4 separate regions of the Homo sapiens genome follow, and all the other regions are linked to region 4. The links are contacts of gene promoters, found by promoter capture Hi-C in blood cells and fetal thymus (Javierre and others, 2016). All regions are on one chromosome and are shown on one strand. Each heading gives the region's core, a stretch centred on a gene start or on the middle of the fragment in contact. The rest is flanking DNA. Distances are from core to core; before and after follow the strand shown.

Region 1 (2,700 bases), core at 83-2,582, 540 kb after region 4:
TGGCAAGTGTTTTTATCTTTTTTTTTTTCCTGCTCCTCAAAATGTTGTCTTGTTCCGGCAATCACTTTTGCCTTCCCTCTTTCCTGAGCCTGTAGTGACAAAGCCCGGCGATTTGGGATGAAATCTGTTGTAACACCAGAGCTTTGATTACACATCCTCTGGTTTTGAGTTATTCTACAGAATCAGAAAGGCTGGAAGGTGGGCTTCACACTCAGGATTGTGCTTTGAGAACCAGCTAATAGACCAGCCGAGGGAAGGTTGAATTGGCTGTCTTTACTTTTCCCGATAAGCCCTACTTAAATGCAGCCTGTAATTGTATAAAGGAGATGAGAAACATCAAGAGAAATGACATACATGTAGCTCTGGGGTAGCAAGAACTAGACTTCCTCAATTTGGATTCCATTTCCTTCTGCCATTTGCTTTTAGGCAATTGAGTGTGGGTAGTGATGAGATATCAAATCCCTTAGTGTTTCCATTTTGGGAAATGAGGCACTATTTTTTTTTTTAAAAGACAACTTACCCACCTGAGTCCTGAAACAGTTTGTCTCTCCAGTTTTCTGGCCTATACTCTAGTTAGCTCTGATCCAAGTTTACAGGACAACAGCCTTGCTTTAAGCCATGTCCTGTTGTGGGCACGATAATAGCAACTGAGCTGTCACAGCCTACCAGCAGGCTGGTAACACCTCCAGGGTCTCTTGGCTAGAGCAGATTTCTTAGCAGCTGACTAGGACTTCAGTCATTGGGAAGCCTATGAGGCCTTTACATTTTTGGTGTGAGATGGGGAAGAAACATAAAATGCCACTTTACAACTTCAATAATAGCCTGTAATTTATATTTACTGTGTGAATTTTTAGTCCTATATTTTAATAATTTGTAAATTGATCTCTTATTCCAAGAATCCTTTGAACTTGTAGAACATCTGGGAGTCCACTTCCCTGTCCTCTTCCTGATCCCTGCTTTCTGGACTGTTTAAATCCTCTTTGGGATGGATCAGAGAGTCTAGAGAGGCCACTCATAGGTCCAGCTGCTGGCCTCCTGACTCTCCAAAGCCTTCACTGGAATTGGGACATTTGCTCCAGCCCTAGCTGTGAACATGACCAGAGACATTATTTATAATTCAGCCATTTAAGATATACCTGTACTCAAAAAGTCCTGTATATTTTTAAAAAGTTTTATTTTTCAGGTGAACAAAAATACATCCTAAGAACTCTGCCTAAGCCTGTGTAAGTTGATCATTTCTCTTACTGTGCTTCGTGGGGACGGAGTAGAGGTTGGAAGAGTAAGTGGTCTGAGGTGTGATGGATGGATGGTGATGAATAGGTTGAGGAGGAAAAAGCAATTGCCCTGCTGTTCTCAGTGCCTGATGGCTTGAATGAATTGATTAGCGAAGGGCGGCAGAATCCATCTTAGTCGGGAAGCAATCCCGGGGTGGAAGAACAGTGATCTCTAGCTCAGCCACCTTTTGCCAACCTTAAACAGGCTGAGAAAAAGTTGTGCTTTACCAGAGCAGATGCCTAGCTGACAAAGCTAAGGGACCAGTAAGCATGAATATTAAGATTTACTGCAAACATTTAGCTGGCTAAGCACTGAGGTGAGGATAAGCTGCCTGATAGCATCACTGTCCTCACCTTTCAACCATTGGCCTCTAGATAACTCAAGAAGTGCTAACACCAGAAAGGCAAGTGTACATCTGTGGTGCTTGGTCAGAGCTTTGTCTACCATGGAGGAGGTAAATGGCTGAGAGGTTTAGGTTGCTTCAAAGGTGAGGTTTTTTTCTTCCCTTCAAGCAAACAAAAAAGACATGTGGGTGAAAGGCACAAATATAAGGGATTAGTTATGCTGCAAAATATATGGTAAGCAATTGAGCTCAGCTCATTATTAGACAATACTGCCCGGTACAAATCCGGAGTGAGAAGCCAGTGTTGGTGGGGCCCCCTGAGGCCTGCACTTCAGCAGAGCCGTTGGGGGGTAGCTACTGTTCTTTTACATTACCTTGTAGTCTGCAGGGAGGCATGGAAAAAGTCTGCCCTTCTTTTATTTCCCTCTTCAGCCTACACAATGGCTTTCTGAGAGAGGGCTTGGTAAGGTAGAGCAGAAGGGGAGTGAAAGAGTTTCCAAGGCTCTTTTGGTCGGCCCCTCCTTTTTGCAGACAGTGACATGTGGCTTCTACAGCTGCCCACGGCGGCTTCACATGTTGGGCACATACAGCAATATGTACAGTGGGAGCCTGCTAGCCGACGAGACAGGGCCTGGTTGGCTGAGGAGCAGTGGTCTGAATAGCTTTATTTCCAAGGGTTAGAAATCAGCTGCAAAATTGTCCATCAAGTTTTAAGCCAGGAAGGAGAGATCTGTGCAGAGGGGGTTACTTTCCTTCAAAGGCTTTGCACCGGGACTACCAGGACCCTTTCTAGGTGTTTGCTTATATTAGAAGTTAACGGTGTGCATTCATTTATTCCCTGACGGCCTGAACTTGAAGAAAGAGATAAGCCTGTTTTGAAAGTGAAGTTTTGGGGGGTGGAGGATCAGGGAAGGAACCCATTAGGCTGAGTTTGTGAGGGTATCTTCACTTTCCCCATTAATGTTAAGGTACAATGAAGTGTTTCTCTGAGGTTTTAAGCATAAGAAATATTTCTCTTCCTAACAGCCCTAGATTTCCACATGGTATGAGACCATGTTTTGGAAGCTTTTCTGTCTACCTTG
Region 2 (2,700 bases), core at 21-2,520, 530 kb after region 4:
GGCCTAGACCCAGACCCCCTCATCCCACCTCCCATCAGGTGGACAAGTCAGCACTAAGGGCTGTCTTCCCTCCCCCACCAAGCCTTCATTTCCCTTCCTGGGACAAGCCCAGCACTCTAACTCTCAGACTGGGCGAGCCCAGCAGCCTCCCCTCCCTGAAGGAGAATCTCCATATTGTTCTCTCCAGCCTAAGAGAATCCCTGGCCTAAGGTAACATTTTCAGGGGCCAGGAGAACCAGAGCCTGGGAGCAGCCCCGTGTAGGAAGGAACAGACACAGCAGAGAGAGGGCTGCAGGGTGCAGCAGTGTCTTCCCCTTCCCTTGCTGACAGGCCTGCATCGGGGAGCAATGCTGAGCCCAGCAAGGGGTAGCAGAAGTCAAATCAGCTCCTTCCCTGGGAGCAGAAGCCTCTAGTTCTCACTTAGGTCCAGGGGCCTTTTGTGGCTGCCCCCACAGCAGCGCAGGGGAGAGCAAGGCTTCCCTGGACAGGATGATGCCCAGTGGAGGGGGTGAAGGAGCTGGGTCTGAGCGCCCTGCCGGAGCAAGGGCAAGACATCTGTGCTGGGAGCGGGGACGAGCTCACCTCTCCTCCTAGCCTGCCTCAGCTCTGGGGTGCACTTTCCTCCTCTTCTCTTGGGGGTTTGAAGGAGAAGAGAAGCAGACCCAAATAAACTACCTCCAGTGACCACCCAGGCAGCTCACCCACTTCTCACACCTAGAACCAAGGCTTAGCCCTTTAGCTGGGGACATACACCCTTAATCCCAGGTTTGTTTATCCAAGCAGTGGTGTCAGCTGCCTGGCCAAACCACACAGGCGCCTGGATCCTAGGAGACATAAACCAATCCTCCCACCCAAGCAAAGCCCCGTAGCAGCCCGGCCCCCACCACCTGGTGCTCCAGCAGCTGAGGCCCCTGCCCCACTTACATCATCCCATTTGATGAAGCGCTCCCCTTGGCTCAGATAGGCCTTCACCTTGGGGGGCAGCAGGACAGGGTTGAGCAGAGACATGGTGCCAAGCGTTCCTCTTTGCAGAATCTCAGCAGACACAGGCAGGCAGAAGGGCAGGAAGGAGGCCAGCCAGGAGGGGGAGCCAAGCTGGGCTCAAATGGCACCCATCCCCGAGCTGCTCCAGAAATCTAGTTGCTCTTATAGCCCCTGGGGTGGCCCTGGCTGAGTGCAGGACTGAGCTGTAGCCAGAGGCCCATCTGCCTTGTAAATCACCCTCCTCCCACCCGCCCTGCCTGCCATGGGGGCCTGTGGTCACTGCTTCTGCCCAAGGAGGCTGAAGCAGGAAGCCCCCGCCTCTTCTGGAGGCCCCCGCCCCCACCCCCAGCCCCACCCTGTGCCTCTCAGCACTTCCTGCTCTGGGCTTCCTTCTCTGCGCTGCTCACAGCGGAGACGTGGTCATGAGGCCGGGTCGCCTTGGAGCCAGGGCCTCTCAGTCCCTGTGGTGGTCTCTGGTCAGATTTGGCCCAGGAGGGCTGGAGAAGGACGACATGGAGACCAGCTGGGGAGACTGCTGCCCAGGCCTGGACTGAGGGAAGGCACAGGGAGCTCACTAGGAGAAAGGACCTCCTCAGGGGAAGGGTCCAGAGCATGGGCATCTGACCCCAAAGGTTGGGAGCACCGTAGAGGCAGGGGTGGGGTGGGGACAGGGCCCAGCTGGAATGGAGTGTTTTGAATAAGCAAAGTTTGCTGAACACACGGCTCCTCTTTCTCAATGCTTCCTCCCCCATGAAAATGAGGTGCACCTGCCGGGCGGGCGGGTGCGGTGGCTCACGCCTGTAATCCTAGCACTTTGGGAGGCCGAGGCGGGCGGATCACGAGGTCAGGAGATCGAGACCATCCTGGCTAACACGGTGAAACCCTGTCTCTACTAAAAATGCAAAAAATTAGCTGGGCGTGGCAGCGGCGCCTGTAGTCCCAGCTACTCGGGAGGCTGAGGCAGGAGAATGGCATGAACCCAGGAGGCGGAGCTTGCAATGAGCCGAGATGGCGCCACTGCACTCCAGCCTGGGCGACAGAGCAAGACTCCATCTCGAAAAAAATAAAAAAAGAAAGAAAATGAGGGGCACATGAGGCAAGGCAATCACTCCCCTCACCCACCTCACCAGACTCCCACCTCTGGGCCTCTGGGACTGCCTGAGGCCTGGACCCCCACTGAGCAGCCCTAGCCCCTGCCTCCACTGCGCTCTCCTCTCTCCTCCGTGTGCCCGCCTCTGCTGTGTACCCCAGCCTGCAGCGGGGCTGGGGCGGAGGGATGGCTGCTCTGGTTGGCCAGGCTCAGCCCCAGCTGCTCAGGTGCCTGACCCACACTCTGCCCCAGGCCCAGGGAGTTCAGCACCAGTCCAGCTCAGCCCAGCCCACTTCCTCTTGCCTAATCTGCTCCTCTTATCGCCCTTCTTAGCCCAGCCTGGGAGGCAGGGAGCTCTACCCAAGACTTCCTTCCCCTCTGGGGCCTGGCCTTTTGCCCTGGGTCACCCCCCCATGGGGCTTTGCATACCCCCAACAACGGTAAGACCCTCACCCAGGCCCTAGAATTGTCGCGGCTGGAGGTCTGGTCCAGGGCAGGGTGGAGGGTGAGGGAGGACACTCTTCATGCGGAATTAAGATAATAAACTGCCCAGTGGAGGCTGGAGCTAAGGGAATTCCCAGCACAGAAATAATCTGCAGAAGAGCAATTCTAGGGCCGGGGGATGG
Region 3 (2,700 bases), core at 131-2,630, 640 kb after region 4:
TCCATGCTCAGCTCTTTTAAATTTTTTATTGTTTTTGAGACAGGGCCTCACTTTGTCACCCAGGCTGGAGTGCAGCGGCGCAGTCATGACTAACTGCAGCCTTGACCTCCCGGGCTCAAGTGATTCTCCCACTTCAGTCTCTTCAGTAGCTGGGATTAAAGGCCCAGTCCGGCTATTTTTTTTTTTTTTTCTTAAATGTTATAGAGACAGGGTCTCACTATGTTGCCCAGGCTGGTCTCCTGAGCTCAAGCCATCCTTCTGCTTCAGCCTCCCAAAGTGCTGGGATTACAAGTGTGAGCCACGGTGCCCAGCCTCATTCATGTTAATGAGCAGGACTGTAATCTCTTCAATTTTTTTTCTTGTGTAGTATTCCATAATGTGGAAATACAACAATTTAATTGTCCATTCTACTGTCGATGGACATTTGGGCTGTTTCCAGTTTGGGGCTATTCTAAAACATTCCTGGCCAGACGCGGTGGCTTATACCTGTAATCCCAGCACTTTGGGAGGCCGAGGCGGGTGGATCACCTGAGGTCAGGAGTTTGAAACAAGCCTGGCCAACATGGTGAAACCCTATCTCTACTAAAAATACAAAAATTAGCCGGGTGTGGTGGTGGATGCCTGTAATCCCAGCTACTCTAGAGGCTGAGGCACAAGAATAGCTAGAACCTGGGAGGCAGAGGTTGCAGTGAGCCGAGATCACACCATTGCACTCCAGCCTGGGCAACAGAGCGATACACTGTCTCAAAAAAAAAAAAAGAAAAGAAAAAACCATTCCTGTGGGTATCTTCTGATACAGATGTGCAAGTGTTCCTCAAGTCATAGTCCCAGGAATATAATTTATCTGTTGTAGGCTATGCACCTGATCAACCTTACTAGATAATTCAAAACTGTTTTCCAAAGTAGTTGTGGGCCTATTAGAATGATGCCACCAGAGGTGACTTGGGGCAAAAGTTGAATGCCAGCCCCAGGGCTAACCCCATGAGCTTATTTTCAGCAAGGGAGAGAAATCAGATGGCAAAAGTGTGCATCTGTGCATCGCTGCTTCCCCAGCCAGGCCCATAAACCACATGTTGAACAAACCTTTATAGGCAAGCTACTAAGACCCATGCACTGGGCGACGGGCTGGGGAGATGGTAATGATTTAGCACAGACCAGCCTCAGAGAGCAACAATTACGTTTCCATTTACCCTGCCAGGCAGCCGGATGCTCCAGTTTTGCCCTGGAAGACACGAGAGAGTAAGGGCTGGATAGATAAGTGGGAATTTTCTTGAAGAAAAAAAGGTATTCCAGGCCCAGGAATATCTCAGCACAGGCAGTACCTCCGCTCCTCAAAGGTGGCCAGTGGATCAGTGGCGGAAGTACAGAGGGCTGCCCTTGCTGGCAGAAGAAGGAAGGAAGGAAGCAAGAAGACTAGGGCTACGCTCGCACTGGCAGAGAGAGACACAGCTCCAGATCCAGATCCATTCAGACACAGCTTGTGCCTTGTGCCCGTCCAGGAGCAAACATGGGTGAGCATGCACATGGACATGCATACGTCTGCACACACTTTCAGAGAGGCTGTCAGACACGCTGCAGGAGCAGAGGCAAGGAGCGTGAACACGCAGCTGCTTGTGGGAGATAAGCCCAGCGCTGGGGGCTGCCTGCCTGGCCTGCCTTGAGAGTCCCCTTGCACATCTGCCTGGGTTCCCAAGAGGCAACCTCTACAAAGACATGTGTTTTCAGGACAACCTGCCCCCTCCCGCAAAGTCTTTCTATTTACAGGAATAGAGTAGCAAAATCCCTTAGTTCATACTTGAGTCTTGTCTGATGCTGCAGGCTGGCCAGGGCTGGGCATACAGTGGGTCTCTTTACTTGTTGAAGTAGAATAGTTAAATGAAATTTACTATAAGATAAATTAAGATAACTTTACTATAAGATATATTAAGATTTAAAATAGGGGGAAAGAGGAACCTGAAATGAGAAAAGGGTAGTGAAGGAAGACTTGATGTCCTTCATAACTGGCCTGCATCCTGCCCAGCCCCTCCTTTCTTTCCAGAAGCCCACCAGTGGCCCAGAGTGGAAGGGTGGGAGTCAGACCAGTCCAAGGTTGCTAATTAAGACTGGACTGCCAGGCACGGTGGCTCATGCCTGTAATCCCAGCACTTTGGGAGGCTGAGGCGGGCAGATCACCTGAGGTCAGAAGTTTGAGACCAGCCTGGCCAACATGGTGAAACCCCGTCTTTACTAAAAATAAAAAAATTGGCTGGGTGTGGTGGCACGCACCTGTAATGCCAGCTACTCAGGAGGCTGAGGCAGGAGAATTGCTTGAACCTGGGAGACGGAGGTTGCAGTGAGCCGAGATTTGGCCACTGCACTCCAGCCTGGGTGACAGAGTGAGACTCCGTGTCAAAAAAAAAAAAAAAAAGACTGGACTGTTTGTGGGTTTTATATGACTGCTGCTTGAGACTGCTTGAGAGAGCTGAGATCTGCTCTCCCTTCCTAAGACTGCTTCCAAGGCCCGGAGCTGGCAGCAGTTCAGAATCACCACCTAGATATTGAGATCCAGCCAGTTCCAGGTCCTCTTGTACCTCTTCCCAGCCCCTCTCTCCCAGGTACCCCGGGCAAAGTATACTCTACGGTCCTTTGAGGCTGGAGAAGCAGGTGGTTGTGAAATAGGCTGGCCTTTGGGACCTCCCTCTCCCCTGGTACCCTCCCTCC
Region 4 (2,700 bases), core at 70-2,569:
TATACCAGCTTCATCAATAATAGCCAACAACTGGAAAGAACTCATCCAAATATGCCTCAAGTAGGAAATGGATAAATATACTACCGTAGATCCATACAATGGACTATTACTCAGCAACATAAAGGAACAACTGATACACAGAACATGAATGAATAGCAACTGCATGATGCTAAGCTGAAAGAAGCCTGATTCAAAAGGCCACAGGGTGTTTGCTTCCATCAATATGACATTCTGGAATAGGCAAAATTACAGGAACAAAAAACTAGGAAGTTGTTGCCAGGGATGGCGTTAGGGGAGGGATTAAATACAAAGAGCACTAGGGAATTTGGGGTTCATGATGAAACTTCCGTATGCTGATTGTGGTGGTTGGTAATTACATAACTGTATACATTTGTCAAAACTCACAGAACTGTAGATTAAATGGGTGAGGCTTACCATAAGTAAGTTATACCTCAATTTTAAGTTAATATATTTGTGCCAATCTTTCTTTAGTTATGCTCATACATCCATAAAATATATTAGAATTGCTGAGTCAAAGAACACTTATGTTTCAAATTTTGGTAGTTCGCCAAATTGTACTCCAAAAAGGCTGCACCAAATTACACTACTTCCCCTACACTGGGCTGGGGCCCATCTGGTTATGTCAAAGCTGTTTCATCTTCTCCAGTCTCATAGGTGTAAAAGGTATCTGTGAATTTGGTTTACATTTCTTCACGAGAAAAGTTGAGTCTCTAATCAATTGTTTGCTGTTTGCATCTTTTTATTTTTCCTGTGAAATGCCTATTTGCATCCTTTGCCGTTTACGGTCTAGTTTAAATGGCTGGTGATCAGTTCTAGATCTTGGTGGGAAGATCCAAATCTCGGGAAAGTAGAAGCCTTGGTTACAGGTCCTAATGTTAGGTGATTCCTGGAGAAATAGCCTCCGCGGAGGCAGAAGCCGCTGGGGCCCCGCCCCCAATGAGCCCGCCCCCGCCCTCTCATTGGCCCTGTCCGCTCTCCCTGACAGTCCATCTACATGCCAAGCGGCCCGACGCAGCTCCGCCCCGCCCACTCCTCGGCGCACCGCCCCGCGACCGAGCTCCGCCCTCATCTGCGCGGCCCCTCACCTTCCCGCCGGGCCTCCTCGAGGAACTGGCCGCCGTCAGTCAGGGCGCAGATGGCCGCAGAAGCGCGCCGCAGACACTCGCCGCGCCAGCCACTTACCCCCAGAGGAGAGGGGTCTCTCCCGCCACCTCAGCCTCTCTGGTAGTGGAAGAAGCCGCCGGTCCAGATCCCTCCTGCCTGTGGGACCGCTGTTTCCCTGGCAACCAGATGCGCGATGCTTCCGGTCTCGCGATAGCGGAAAGGGCTGTACCATCCGGAAATGGGACCGGGGCCGGCGGCTGTTGGAGCCCTGCGAGCTGGGACGGCCGGCGTGTGTCCTTCCGTCTTCGCTGCCGACGGTGGGGGTTGGGAGCGATTTTTCGTCTTTAGGTTGGATTCGGAACGCGGACGTCTGGATGCTTGTGTATCTCTGTCCCTCATATTGCTGTGATGCCTTACAGGTCAGTTATCCTCTCCGAGCACAGTTTCCTCCTCCGTAAAATGGGAACAATAATAATTCCCTTCTTACAAGACTTGTGCAGCTCAAAAAGACCATGTATGTGAAGCTCTAGTAAATTTGGGGTGCTATGGAAATTTTAAAAATATGAGTTTTGCACAGATTCGGCTACAGTCCAAAAAGAGTTATAATTGCTTTTTGCACCTTCTTTCATTTCGTAGTTTCTCTAATTCTCAGTGCACGAAAATTATTTCCCTACGTCCACAAACTGATTTTCCTCACCTCCATTGCCATCATTTCTCCTGCTTTCCAGTCTGAACAGCACATTACCGTTTACAGGGCATTTTCACATTCATGGCCCCTTTGTCCTCATTGTTTTAACTAGGTACGATGTGGTTTTTTTTCAGCGAAGCAAATAGTCGTAGGCTGAGTTGCCGAAAGAACACAGCTGCAGTCTAGGCGAGTGCTGGGTATAAAAACCTGGCTATAAATGCCATCCCTATGCTCCTGAATCCTGCATCTTATCACCAGCCCAGACTTCCCTGAACTCCAGACTCCTTTACCTAACTGCCTATTTGGCATATCCACTTAGATGTGTAAGCATCTCAAACTTAACACGGGAAAAAACAACTTCTCCAGAGTCCCCCACCCACTTTCTATCCATCTCAGCAAATGGTAATTTCAGCCTGCCATGCCTAGACCAAAAACCTTGGAGTCATCCTCAATTCTTCTTCCTCTCTCACTCTACAATCTATTTGTCCTATCAGCTCAACATTCAAAATATATTCAGAATCCAAACATTCGTCACAACTTCAGTGCTTCCATTCAGGTTCATACTGACATCATCTCTAAATGATAAGGCTTTCTGTTGGCTCTCTGACCTCCACTCCTACCTACTGCTTTCCCCTGGTAAACCTGGTTCCAGCCTCACTGTCCTCATTGTTAGTGTTTCTGTGCAGGGATTTCTTCCCAGCATTTCTCAGGGAATTTATGTGGCTTTCCAAATCTCAAAAGAAAAAAAGTTGCAAACTGAAGAAAATGGGAGAAAGTATCCTAATCCTCCTATGAGAATTAAAACTTAGCAGCCGACCTAGAGATGTTACTGAAGAAATTCACCAATGTCAAGTTGAAAACCAGCACAGGAAATGCTGAGTTCGAGG

Evidence for each region. Contacts are between HindIII fragments. The CHiCAGO score rates a contact against its expected background, and 5 or more counts as called.
Region 1: a contact is called between a fragment that was not itself captured here and the fragment with the promoter of FSIP1 in region 4, in 2 of 17 cell types (naive B cells and total B cells). The highest score is 8.4, in naive B cells.
Region 2: a contact is called between the fragment with the promoter of PLCB2 here and the fragment with the promoter of FSIP1 in region 4, in 1 of 17 cell types (naive B cells). The highest score is 6.9, in naive B cells.
Region 3: a contact is called between a fragment that was not itself captured here and the fragment with the promoter of FSIP1 in region 4, in 2 of 17 cell types (total B cells and naive B cells). The highest score is 6.5, in total B cells.

What each region holds. Positions count from the first base shown.
Region 1 is chr15:40,325,499-40,328,198 of GRCh38, forward strand. INAFM2 (InaF motif containing 2) reads left to right here. Exons shown (of 1, transcript NM_001301268.2): 1 at 1-1,217. Among named protein-coding and RNA genes, the nearest start is that of INAFM2, 3.2 kb to the left of the region's middle. The HindIII fragment of the contact is 2,698 bases long and covers 1-2,681 here.
Region 2 is chr15:40,306,665-40,309,364 of GRCh38, forward strand. It overlaps PLCB2 (phospholipase C beta 2), which reads right to left and starts at 1,271. Exons shown (of 32, transcript NM_004573.3): 1 at 925-1,271. The coding sequence starts at 1,008. The HindIII fragment of the contact is 15,701 bases long and covers 1-2,700 here.
Region 3 is chr15:40,425,792-40,428,491 of GRCh38, forward strand. It overlaps a transcript of IVD not described here. Among named protein-coding and RNA genes, the nearest start is that of BAHD1, 14 kb to the right of the region's middle. The HindIII fragment of the contact is 7,750 bases long and covers 1-2,700 here.
Region 4 is chr15:39,781,522-39,784,221 of GRCh38, forward strand. It overlaps FSIP1 (fibrous sheath interacting protein 1), which reads right to left and starts at 1,320. Exons shown (of 12, transcript NM_152597.5): 1 at 1,107-1,320. LOC105370941 (a long non-coding RNA gene) reads left to right here and starts at 1,385. Exons shown (of 1, transcript NR_135665.1): 1 at 1,385-2,700. RefSeq lists a silencer at 950-1,129 and an enhancer at 1,430-1,559. The HindIII fragment of the contact is 7,042 bases long and covers 1-2,700 here.